3 separate regions of the Homo sapiens genome follow, and all the other regions are linked to region 2. Evidence: promoter capture Hi-C in human tissues and cell types (Jung and others, 2019). All regions are on one chromosome and are shown on one strand. Each heading gives the region's core, a stretch centred on a gene start or on the middle of the fragment in contact. The rest is flanking DNA. Distances are from core to core; before and after follow the strand shown.

Region 1 (4,189 bases), core at 21-2,520, 320 kb before region 2:
AACCTCAGGATTCTTTACTAATTTCTCATCAGCATCATTTTTTATTGTATTTCCAAATTTAAAAACAACTGTCTCCAAAGGCCTCAAAATTACTTTCAGTTATTACTATAATAAATATCAGCGATGTATGATGTATTAATTAGAAACTAAGGTGTTTTTTTTCCCCTCCCCACAGGAAAACTACTTCAGAGAAAGACTTTAAATTTCTGAGAAAATCTTTATACATATTGAGTATAGATGCTATCAACCACATACATGAAAATAATTGTTTGGGGATAATGCACACCATTTGCCAATGATTAAGATTCAGCCCAGTCTTTGTTGCTGCATTTCTACATTCACATAAATTGGTAAGTCATGATGACACAGAAGGCTCACATGCCACGTAAAAATTTCAAGCCTGGATCTGAATGGGTGCCTGAATCCTTCTCAGAATGCATATTTTGGAGGCAACTGTTTGGTTTATGTTACTGCTCCCTAAACTGGGCAGTGACTCAAGAGGCAGCTGGAAGAGAGAAGGAGGTGCTGGGCAAGTGCTAAAAAAGAGTGAAGCCTCAACAGCAGAGTCCCTCCCCTTCTCTACACACCACACAGCCTTTTTGTGACTTCTTGTCCCCATAAGATATGCTCCTCTAGACTAACTCCCCTTCCCAGGGTGGAGCAGAGTCTCACCGGCTCATTATCTCACAGCTCCCGGGATGGCCCCGGGTACAGCAACTGTGTGGCACTTGGCTGTGGAAATTCAAGTTTTTCCACCCTAAAACAAGTAGGTTGTGAAACCCGATTTCGGTCCTGGTTACCATTGAGAGGGGCCTACCACAGCCCTGTGCCTGGAAGTTCCTGCCTGTCGAAGCTCCTAGCCCCCTGCCCCATCCTCACCTTCTGCACCTGATGGAGAAGGTGCAGTCCCTCCGCGCACCTTACATGCCCATGCCACACTGGTGGACTCACGCACGCACGCCAACTCTGCCATCCCATGCACGCCCGGCTTCGGAGGGCGGCTACGAACTTACTGCTCGTCGAGCCAGCCGAGCCAGGGCGCAAGGGGAAAGGCCCGAGCGGGGCCGGGGATAGGATCGGATAGGAGTCGGGGTCGTGGATGGGGTCGGGGCGGACCCCGCCGGCCCGCTGGCCTCCCTCCCCTGACCCCCGGGACAGCCCCCGATGCACGTGCTGGGTGACAGGCCCCCTATAGGTTCCATACCTGCCACCGGAAGTGAGTGAGGAGGGCAGTATAGGCATTTCCTGTGACGCGAGCGCCTGGACTCCATTAGGCAGCAGCTGGGGGAAGAATCAACACACCAGGGAGCAGAGCGGAGCGGATCCGAGGACAGAGGCGGCAGCTGCCTCCGCTGCCGCCCGCCGCCGCCGCCGCCGCAGCCACTGCCGGGGCTCAGCCCAGCGGCGGGCCCCGCGCCCCCGCAGCCGCCCCGCGGCGCCCCCCGGCGCGACCCCCGGGCCGCGCACCCCGAGCTGCCTCCGGGAGGGGGGGGGGAAAGGGCCCGGATCCTCCTTCTCCCCCTCCTCCTCCTCCCCCTCCTCTCACCCTCACCCTCACCCTCCTACCCTGACCCCCTCCCCGCCTCCCCGGCCCCCCTCACCCCGACCCTCTCCCCGGCCCCCGCCTCCCCTCCCCCGCCTCGCCCCACCGGCTTCCCACCACGGCCTCTCTCGGCGAGGAAACTCTGGCCTCCGCTTCCTCCTCCTCCGACTCGGACACCGGCGGAGCCTCCCCGCCCCCGCGGAAGAAACCCCGAGCCTCGGCGGCGGAGGGAGTAGGAGAGCCCGGGGCTTCGGCAGGCAGAGCAGGCCTCTCCCCTCCGTCCTCGTCGTCCTCGTCCTCCTCCTCCTCCTCCTCCTCCGTGGTGGTAGTGGTGGGACTTCCCCCGGCTGCTGCCCCTCCCGCCGCCGCTGCTGTCCCCCACCGAAGTAGCGGCCACAGCCTGGTCAGCGGCAGCATCATGCAGGCCAATGGGGCAGGAGGAGGAGGAGGAGGTGGCGGCGGCGGCGGTGGAGGAGGAGGGGGCGGCGGGGGCCAGGGACAGACCCCGGAACTCGCCTGCTTGTCGGCCCAGAACGGGGAGTCGTCCCCCTCGTCGTCGTCGTCCGCGGGGGACCTGGCCCACGCCAATGGGCTCCTGCCTTCCGCCCCCTCCGCCGCCAGCAACAATAGCAACAGCCTGAATGTCAATAACGGGGTTCCCGGCGGGGCGGCCGCCGCATCCTCAGCCACCGTCGCAGCTGCCTCCGCCACCACCGCCGCCTCCTCTTCCTTGGCCACCCCAGAACTGGGCAGCAGCCTCAAGAAGAAGAAGCGGCTCTCCCAGTCAGATGAGGATGTCATTAGGCTAATAGGACAGCACTTGAATGGCTTAGGGCTCAAGTAAGTATCCCTTACCGCCAGCTGGTGATGGACAGACCGAGGGACGGAGGCTCCAGGGGGGTAGGGGAAGGGGCGGAGGGGGGAGGGGGGCTTGAAAGAGCTCGGTCAAAGAGAATGAGTGCTGGGCACGCAGGACCCAGTACACAGGAGGACGCGGCTCAGGGCGACCGGGGAGGAGGAGCGGACCTGAAAGGAAATAGGGGAAAATCAATCAGTCTGACAAATTGTGAGACGAGACAGGCGTTGAGGGGTTAGGAAGGGTTAGGAGAAACCCAAAGAATGACTTCTCCCCACGCACCTTCAGAGCTTAATTGTCTGTCAATAAAGACAGATGCGGGAGTGTGTTTCTGTATGTGTTGGGGGAGGGGTGGATTAGAGCTGGTGGAAATAATGAACCTTGGAGGATTTGTTTTTCAAGTGTATCTTGGAGGCATCTTTGTGGGACACCTCCCCACCCCCAACCGTGGCAGACAACAACCCAAGCAAACTACCAATCAGGAAAGACAATCACCTACAAGTGTTTATGGGAACGGAGGGGCTGGGATCATTTGGAAAGAGGTTGTTGAATAAATCTGATGCGAATAATGAAGATACAGTGTTGATGTCGTTTAAAGGCCCTTGTGTGTGTGTACAAGAGGCCTAACCCTAACTAGTCTGAAATCTCAGTTTAATACCAAGAAGATGATCGCCTCTGAAAAGGGGACATCTGATCTGGTGAACCATTTGTTTTCAAATACAATTTAGGTGGCCTTGTATACCTAACATAGGGTGAAGGTAGACAGCGACCTTGGACAAAAACCACCGTTTTGTATACACACAAAGAAAAACTAAGGGGGTGGAAGGTAGGATTGGTGGGAGTGCCTGATGAAGGAGGTGCAAGAGACGGAGTCAGAATGAAATGAAGGGGGGAGGACGTGCAGCAGCAGTCAGTTTCCTACATTCAGAGTGTAGATTAAGCTCTCAGGCTAGCCGATGTGTACTTTTGCATTTATGGATTTCTTGGGGAGTGGGGAGGAGAACAGAACTTTTTAAAAGTGGCACAAGTATTTCGGTTTTCAGGCAGATCATTGCACTGTTTAGCTAAAAATTAAGTTTTAAAGCTGAATAAGAAAGCATTGAAACATAAGCACAAAAAATAGACTGATAAATGAAGGTTCTTAGATACCAGAATACATGAGGGAAGAAAATACAGTTGATGAATCTTTTAAGTGCTCAAAGACAAATATGTGGTAGGAAGAATTCACTTTATTCCCTAGGGAAAAGGATTAGTATGAAAACAGATTTTGTAAATGCTAACAGAACATATTACTGAGACAAGAAGCAAGCTGACAGCAGCAGGAGGAAATAACTCGTGACTGTTTGGAACCTACACCATAGTAAATTTGCTATTTTTAGTATAGAGAGAAAGGGAATGATTTTTGATGCTGGATTTGTTTTAATTTTAAAGATTGACCTAGTAGAATTTCTATGCAATATAATACCTGGATATATAAGCTCTTAACTGATACGGTCATCTCTGTTAACCTTGTGTGAAGCTAATAATTTTTATCTTTCAAAATGTAACGTAGTATGTTGATTCTGGTTTTTCATTTATTTGACTAGTTGGTTACAGCACATTTTTAGAAATTTTATACTTTATGCATTAAATTGAGGCATTAAATGGCAAACTAGGAAGAACTTACATTGATTCTGGTTTCAAGAAAGGTTTTTAACTTGACTAGGAAAAAATGTAGGTGTCAGTTTTAAATAAAGTTTGTTTAACCAGGCACATGAAAGCTATTTTTTTCTTCATCATGAGGCTAGCTT
Region 2 (4,163 bases), core at 731-3,230:
TGAAAAATCTGAGTTTGAAATTATAAATTTATAACCTTAAAAGGCCAGAAAACTGCTTAAAAATTAAGAATGCAGCTGAATATCTCACCTGACAGAGATGTCATTTATTCATAAGTTGTGGGATGTGTTTTAACTCTAGTTAGGACAGGCTGGTTCCCCCCTCCCCACTACATTTTTTTAAAATAGTAAAATGATCAACAAACAAATAAAACTCAGTTTTTCTCAACACTTACAAAACAGAACTGTGAATATTCCAAGATTTACAAAGCCATTGTCTGGTTGAATGGTTCAATTCAATCAAATGTTATATGCCCAATTTTCCAAACACTGTATATGTACAGCGCGAATTTTGATTAAACGCCACTGTTTGTAAAAATCTGAAGGAATATTTAAGATTCTACATGAAATTCTAGAATGAAAACGTTTTGGAAATTCAGAGGCAATCAATTGTGAAATATCTATTTTCAGCTGAAGAAATTTTCCATCCTGCAGACTGGCATGGTTGAACTGCTGTGTTGACTAGAAAAAAAATTGGCCATCAGTTTGAATTAATATTTATAAGTTCTCTTTTAAAAATGTTATGATTTCCTTTAAAAATGTAATTATAATCCACTTGAAAGTGGAGGTGTATGCCTACAATATAGCATATTGAGTAATAAGAAGATGTTATACACAGCACATTCAGAAATATCTTTGTCCTCTTAAAAACAATTCCCAGCACAGATTTAGCTTCTCCATGGAATCGGTTTGCAATCACTTCAAAATGTCCACCTCCTTCAATTTCTTTACCACTTAAAGATAATTTCATTGAAAGGCAGCAAAATATCTAACTGAACTAACAATCACCACATCTTCAAACCTCTGGAGTGAAGTAAAACCCCAATGGCAAATTCATTATTTTTAAAAATCATGGACTGACCTATTGTGATTTTAAGGTATAAAGAAACCTCTCCTAAAGCAGGTGGGTGGGCGTAAATCACTAGTTAAAAATAAATTGCAAAAGAGAAAAAACCCGTCAAGGGGTAAGTTGCTTCTCTACGGTGGGAAGCGTTAGGATGAGGCAAAGCAGGAATGGTCATTTCCCAAGGCTCTACTTTAGTGGTCAATTAGGGCGCTGGGGCTAACGCTAAGTAAACACGTTCGAATTCTTCGGAACCTCTACCTGGGTTTGGGGTCACTGAGCCACCTTAGTCTACTCAATCTTCTCGAACAAGAAAACTTGGGTGGTTGGGGTGGGGAACAATTCGTTATTCTTGCAAGATAAACCAAACCTGGCTGGGATCATCTGCCTACTTCTGAGTTTTCTCCCCAAACCCAGGCCGGGGGCTGGAAGCGGCATACAAAAGGCAGGCGACATGACCTCTCCGGGTCTACTCTCGGGCCAGGCGGAAGGTGGGAAGACCAACTCCGCTACCCCTCCCGTAGAGGGCCCGCTTCCGGGCGGGGGGCAAGGAGCCCCCAAGGCGAAGTCCCCTCAGGAAGTAACCCCAGCTCCGCAGCTAGGACGCAATCGGGAACCAGCCCACTCCTGCTGACTGACGCCAAGGGAGAGTTCGGGACGGGAGCGGCTCCCTCCCAGATCTGTAGCCGGCTGGGGCTCGCGGGGGGCTCCCTTCCCGGGGAACGCGCTCCCTTCTCATCTCCCAGACCTCGGCCGGGGGGAGAGGGAGGCAGGAGTTCTGCGGGGGCCTCACCAGGCGGAGCTGGCTAATTTCGTCGTAGGACATAAAGCTGAGGATGTTCTCGATGGCTACGATGGGCAGCGCCACAAGCGTGTTGTTTTGAGGCAGCTGGTCCGGAGCCAGCGCGGGGGCTGGGAGCGCCTGGGACCCCGGCTGCGGGTGCTGTGGCGCGGGCGGTGGAGGCTGTCGCTGGGTAGAGCCGGAGGCCAAAGAGGAACCGCCGTCGCCTTGGCCGCCGCCTCCTTCCTCTGCCATCCGCTCCTCCGCCGCTGCCGCCATCTTGGGGGCTTGATTCCTTACCCCCACAGCAAGGGGAACAGGGACACTTCCGGTGCGTCACTTCCTCCTCCTGCAGCCGCCGGGGAAGGGGTACCTGGAGGAGTGGGGAGGAGCCTGTGGGATAACAGGCGGAGAGAGACTCACAGGGTGCCTTTCAAGTGGAAGTCAGGGAAGATCATGTAAACCTCAAGAAAGGTGGTCATCCTAGACCCTTTTGTCTAAGATTAGTAACTACTTGAGAGCAAGGAAACCCTATTTATTAAAATGAACTTCACTGTGCAGTTTTCTTAAAGGGCTTCCTGACAATGGATGATAAAGATGTTGCCTAGTAAGTGTAGATGGAAATAATGTAGTTAGACTAGCACCATTTTTTAGGAATCATAGAAATGATTGATTTAGGCAAATAAAAAGGTATGAAATATCAATAAGAACTACAACATGAATGAACCGTGAGAACATATTAAGTGAAATAAGTTAGACACAAAGGACCACATATTGTATGATTGCATTTATATAGGATGTCTTAAATAGGCAAATCCATAGAGATAAAAAGTAGATTAGTGGTCGCCAGAGGCTGGGGGAAATGGGGAAATGAGTGCTAATGGGTGAAGGGTTTCATTTTCGGGGTGATAAAAATGCTCTGGAATTAGCGGTGATGGTTACACAACCGTATGAATATACAAAAACCACTGAATTACTATATACTTTAATGAATTTTATCATATATGAATTGTATTCTAATAACTGATTTAGGCAAGAATCATCAAAAGGTACTAAAACTAGGAGGTAAACGTGATGAGGAACATGATATTTCCATAGTCTCAAAATAACTCCCCATAAATTATGTATTATTTACAAAGATGAAAAGAAATAGTTTACAAGGCTGGGCGTGTTGACTCACGCCTGTAATCCAGCACTTTGGAAGGCTGAAGCGGGAGAATCACTTTAGCCCAGAAGTTGGAGACCAGCCTGGGCAACGTGGAGAAACCCCATCTCTACAAAAAATACAAAAAATTAGCCAAATGTGGTGGCTAGGTCCTATGGTCCTAGCTACTCGTGAGGCTGAGATGGGAGGATTGCTTGAGCCACACGAGTTCGAGGCTGCAGCGAACCGTCAGCCTGCCACTGCACTCCAGCCTGGGCAACAGAGCGAGAAAAAAAAAAAAAGTTTACAATAGAGAAATTTGGTGGACACCATCATAACCAAATGATCAAGACTAACGCCACAGTTATAGGAGGAGCCAATATCATATGCCTATTAATATAATACCCTGAAAAGGACGCAGCATAATGTAGTATTCATGCAAAAAAAGCACGAGTTGCGTTTGAGGTAGACATCGCTAGATGACGGGCCCATAAATTATTCAAAAGTGTTAACGTTACAAAAGACAAAGACTAAGGGTTTGTGGCAGATTAAAGGATACTAAAGAGACAGGGCAACTAAATCTATGGGTGATCCTGGATGGGATCCTGGATTAAGGAAGAAATAACTATGAAGAACGTTATTGTGACAACTGGCAAAATTTAAAAATGGACAGTATATTAGATTATACTGTAATCATATTAAATTTTTCGATTTGGGTAATTGTATTATGGTCATATAAGACAATGTCTTTGTCTTTAGGAAATACACATTGAAGGATAAGCATGCTTCTATTATTTTCCTTTATTTATTTATTTATTTTTTTGAGATGGAGTCTTGCTCTGTCACCCAGGCTAGAGTGCAGTGGTGCGATGTCAGCTGGTTCGAGCAATTCTCCTGCCTCAGCCTCCTGAGTAGCTGGGATTACAGGCGCCCACCATCACGTCTGGCTAATTTTTGTATTTTTAGTAGAGACGGGATTTCACCATCTTGGCCAGGCTGCTCTCGAACTCCTGACCTTGTGATCCACCCACCTCAGCCTCCCAAAGTGCTGGGATTACAGGCAGCAATGGCGCCCGGCCGCATGCTTTGTATTTTACACTTTGCTTTCTTGTGCTTCTCAGATATTGCGTTTTTAAAAATGAATTGAAGGTTTGTGGCAACCCTTGAGCAAGTCTCTTGGTGCCATTTTTCCAACAGCATGTGTTCACCTTGTTTCTTTCTGTCACATTTTGATAATTCCTCTGATATTTAAAACTTTTTATTATTGTTATATCTGTTATGGTGAGCTGTGATCAGTAATTTTTTTTGTTTATTGAGGCAGCATCTTGCTCTGTTGC
Region 3 (4,078 bases), core at 349-2,848, 270 kb before region 2:
GGTCGGGGATGGGAGAAAGGGAAAAGTCAGGGAAGGGGAGAAGAAAGAAAAACACATTTGGCCTTAAAATAGCATGCATTCTCCCAGAAGCCCATAGTAAAGAAAATGACAGATCGTGGTCAGCAGACTCTTATCAAATTGGTATGTAAAAGATTTCTTCAAGCTCCATTTTGCAGAGACCACCACTTAGAGAATCAAAAAATTCCTGTTTTGATACTTCTAAGTTAAAATATATGTTACAGTTTATCTGGTACTTCATTTTTCTTAACTAAAATTACTTTTTACTTTAAGCTTGAATAAAAATCTTCATTGGTAACTGTATGTAATTAAGTGGCAACTTCTCTTTACCTCAGTATAGTTAAAAACCATTCATATTTTAAGTGATTCATGTATACCCTGAAGCCGTTAATACACCCCAGTCTCTATGGTAACATCACTAAATGTGGGCATAGAAACTCCACAGCTGTTTACAAATTTGGTTACAGTGTGCTACGGTGCATTTGTAACACTCAGATTTGTGCCCATTCAGGGGCAATTTGGCACTCAGATTCTACTCTACTTCACCTAACCACCCCTAGATCTGAGTTTTCAGAGTGCTTCTGAAGTACAGTTTAAAAACACTTTTTAAAAAGTGGAGTAAAAGTGAGGCACATTTTACAAGAACATAACTCCTATTAAAACGGAGTAACAACTATGCAAAGGTTTCTATAGCAGCTAGGTGAGTTTGTTTTCCGGGTCTGTCTTAACTGGCAGCTTCCTGTACATACTGGTACTTATTTGCTGTAAACGTCTGTTTCATACATTTGCCATGCAGTGACTGTGCTCGAAAGGTGAAATCAATGGTAAAGAAGCCTAGGATTTTATGGTATGAGAAACTGATCGCAGGATTTTCTGATCCATAGCTATTAATTGAAAACTTCTGATAGTGCTGTAGGCTCTATAGTAGGCTTAAGAGTGAGTCTTATACTATGAAGCCAGCCACAAGATACTAACAAATGTATAAATTGAAAAGTACCAATACTTTTTGCACATAGATCAAAATAGAGTGGAGAATTTGGGCTCCAAAAATCAGGTTAGTAGGCTCATTTCCATGTGCTTAAAAATGTTTTTGTTGTTATGCATTGATTAAGGGCTAGAGCAAATATAAAATTAAATGTCTTTTTCCTCCAAATAATTGGTTATTAATGGTAAAATGTTGGACTTGGGGATTACTGAGATTAGTATGTGGGTAGTAAAGAATTGGAGTGGGAGTTAGTGGGGAGGGATGACAAAGCTTCAGCTTTGGTTTTTGTATTTTTTTAGTCTTCATAACAGCTACATTTCTGTTGCTCTTATTGGCCAGATAAATGTGTTATATTAAACCAGGTAAGTATTTTAAACAGAGAACATTTTATTTGCATATATCCCTACAAATTGGCCCATTTTATTGGGTGGGGGGATAAAAAAGGGATTCCCTAACTTTAAATAATCAGAATATCCTGCAATTGAAAGGAGAAAAAAATCCAATTTTGTCAGTATTTTCTTAGTCTGAAAAAAACAGCAGTAGTAATCTGGTGAATGTTATTATTAGGAGTGTTCTGCCTCTACAGTGGCATATTCCATGACATTAATAGAAAACCCTTCTTTCCCACCCCTCCCCATCTTGACATTTTCTTTTTTAGGATGTTGGTTCCTGCAAACAAGAACTGACCCTATCACCTCTGCCTCACAGTGGGTAAATATATCATACATCTCTTGAAAGGGAAAATATCCATGTCAGTTTCTTTCACAGTAGAAGAATGGCTGCTTTTGAATGGGGAGGAAAGAAGACATTTTTCTTAATATCCTTTTTGTCCCATCTCTAAAATGTATAAATATTTTGATTTGGTTTTACTTTAATTTCTCATTCATAATTTCGCAACTGTCCTTTTGGGTTGCCCTCCAACACATTACTTCCATTTCAGAAACCATATCTGATTTAATATAAACTGCTAACTTAAGAAGAGGTGAATTTGCATTTACACTTAGACACTTTCTAAAAACAGGGTGAACTTAATTGAAATTTTTCAGTGTTGTTAAGCTATTGTTATAGTAGCTGCCCTATAGTTACAAAAATAAAAACTATAAAAACCCATCCCCTATCTACTTAATCCAGATAGCCTGGATTTAACAAAACCAATAGTATAAAAATGTGTGTGTGTGTTCTGTGTGTGTGTGAGAGAGAGAGTACTTGATTCATTAAAAAGTCCTGGAAACAGCTGTTCTAGGATCTTGTCATTTTTACTGAAAGTCTCGTGCACATGTGAAGTGCCCTCTGAGTTTAAGGTTTGGTTAATACTGGTATATTTTTATAAGATTGAAATTGTGTCCCCATCTTTAACTTAAACATTTTCATTATCAGGGTCAATGTGCTAGAACTGAATTGTAACATTTTTAGGCACAGATGGAAAAAAATGTTATTGGCTCCTTGAAAATGTGTGTGTGTGGCGAGGGGAATAGATCCACAAAAGCATGTATGTACTTACAAACCAAGCTGTAGAGATCAAGAAAAGAACTTAAGTGTTGATCTCAAGATTTCTAAATTGTCAAGATTTACATGGCATTGTGGTGGAACTAGTTAACACTTAGAGCTTTTGGTATGTAATAACTATTTGCTATGGACTGATTAAATGTTTCAAAAGATTGTGTTCTTCAATTTTGGTGGGTTTTGATTTTTGTTTTTTTAACTGCCTCTCAGATTATATTTACTTAGTTTAAATTTCTTTGCTTTATTCATTAAAGTATAAAAACTTCAGGTCTCTGATATTTATTTTCACTTGTTTACTAATTATTTACAAAACACCCTTTGTTGACTTTTATTTTATAAATGTGTAATGTATTAAACGTCTTTAAATTTTTGTTCAACTGAAACTACATTAACTTTGATTTGCTTTACTGGGATTTTTTTTTAAAGACACTTTTTCCATGTCAGTGCGCAGCACTTAACCAGTCGTTTGTATTCCCTTTCTTTCAATCCAATAAACAGAATGAATACCTAAATAATTCTTGGTGTGTTACATCTCCTAATATCCATTAATCTGAATGTTTAAGTAGTACTCTTTTTGCCTAAAACATTTGCTGATTTTTTATGTATTTTAGAGAGAGTCTCACTGTGTTGCCCAGACTGGACTTGAACTGCTGGGCTCAAAATATCCTCCTGACTCAGCCTCTCAAAAGTGCTGAAATAACAGACACAAACCATCATGCCTGGCTATGATTTGCTGAATTTGCCTTCCATATATGTACCTAGAGTTTGTGAGTGATAGCTAAAGAAGCAGTGGTTAGTCTGTTGGGATCATCTTTTTTTTTTTTTTTTTTTTTTTTTTTGAGACGGAGTCTTGCCCTGTCGCCCAGGCTGGAGTGCAGTCGTGCGATCTCGGCTCAGTGCAACCTCTGCCTCCCGGGTTCAAGTGATTCTTCTGCCTCAGCTTCCCAAGTAGCTGGGACTACAGGCGCCCGCCACCACGCCCAGCTAATTGTTGTATTTTTAGTAGAGATGGGGTTTCACCATATTGGCCAGGCTAGTCTCGAATTCCTGACCTCGTGATCCACCTGCCTCGGCCTCCCAAAGTGCTGGGATTACAGACGTGAGCCACCGCGCCTGGCCTGGGATCGTCTTTTTAAGGGCCACTGTGCATTCATGGATAAACTTAGAAAAATTTTAGGAGTATTTGCATTTCAAAGGAATTGCATGCCCTATTTTGTTCAAAAATAAAGTTCAAATGTGAAAAATAAGTATTTGGCAGCCGACTAATGGTGAGTGTAGCTGTGAGAGGTATTGCTTCCATAGCTCACGGCTTAGAAAATCATGGTTTGCAGCTTCCTCTGATTAACAGGAAAGAGAAGGAAGAAGTTTTTCTACTTGTTTTCTTTAAATACAGCTATACCTTAACAGCAGATTTAGCTAATTTAGTCAGTTTATTCATCTACATTTAGAGTTCCATGCCAATTCCCAGGACCAGGTATAGAAATTTTCTCAGTCTTAACAAATCTAAGAGTACAGATTTTTTTTTAAAATACAATCTGGCCGGGCACAGTGGCTCACGCCTGTAATCCCAAC

Evidence for each region. Contacts are between HindIII fragments. The study calls those that stand out against the background at their distance.
Region 1: a contact is called between the fragment with the promoter of WDR26 here and the fragment with the promoter of FBXO28 in region 2, in 1 of the 25 tissues and cell types used here (spleen).
Region 3: a contact is called between a fragment that was not itself captured here and the fragment with the promoter of FBXO28 in region 2, in 2 of the 25 tissues and cell types used here (heart right ventricle and mesenchymal stem cells).

The regions. Positions count from the first base shown.
Region 1 is chr1:224,431,878-224,436,066 of GRCh38, reverse strand. WDR26 (WD repeat domain 26) reads left to right here and starts at 1,270. Exons shown (of 14, transcript NM_001379403.1): 1 at 1,270-2,383. The coding sequence starts at 1,662. It also overlaps a transcript of CNIH3 not described here. RefSeq lists an enhancer at 362-551 and a silencer at 892-1,291. The HindIII fragment of the contact is 17,142 bases long and covers 1-4,189 here.
Region 2 is chr1:224,111,928-224,116,090 of GRCh38, reverse strand. It overlaps FBXO28 (F-box protein 28), which reads right to left and starts at 1,980. Exons shown (of 5, transcript NM_015176.4): 1 at 1,695-1,980. The coding sequence starts at 1,961. It overlaps LOC105373056 (a long non-coding RNA gene), which reads left to right and starts at 2,051. Exons shown (of 3, transcript XR_007066897.1): 1 at 2,051-2,156. RefSeq lists enhancers at 1,918-1,987, 2,128-2,187, 2,208-2,337. The HindIII fragment of the contact is 33,635 bases long and covers 1-4,163 here.
Region 3 is chr1:224,384,086-224,388,163 of GRCh38, reverse strand. WDR26 (WD repeat domain 26) reads left to right here. Exons shown (of 14, transcript NM_001379403.1): 14 at 1-3,018. Among named protein-coding and RNA genes, the nearest start is that of MIR4742, 12 kb to the left of the region's middle. The HindIII fragment of the contact is 3,580 bases long and covers 1-3,388 here.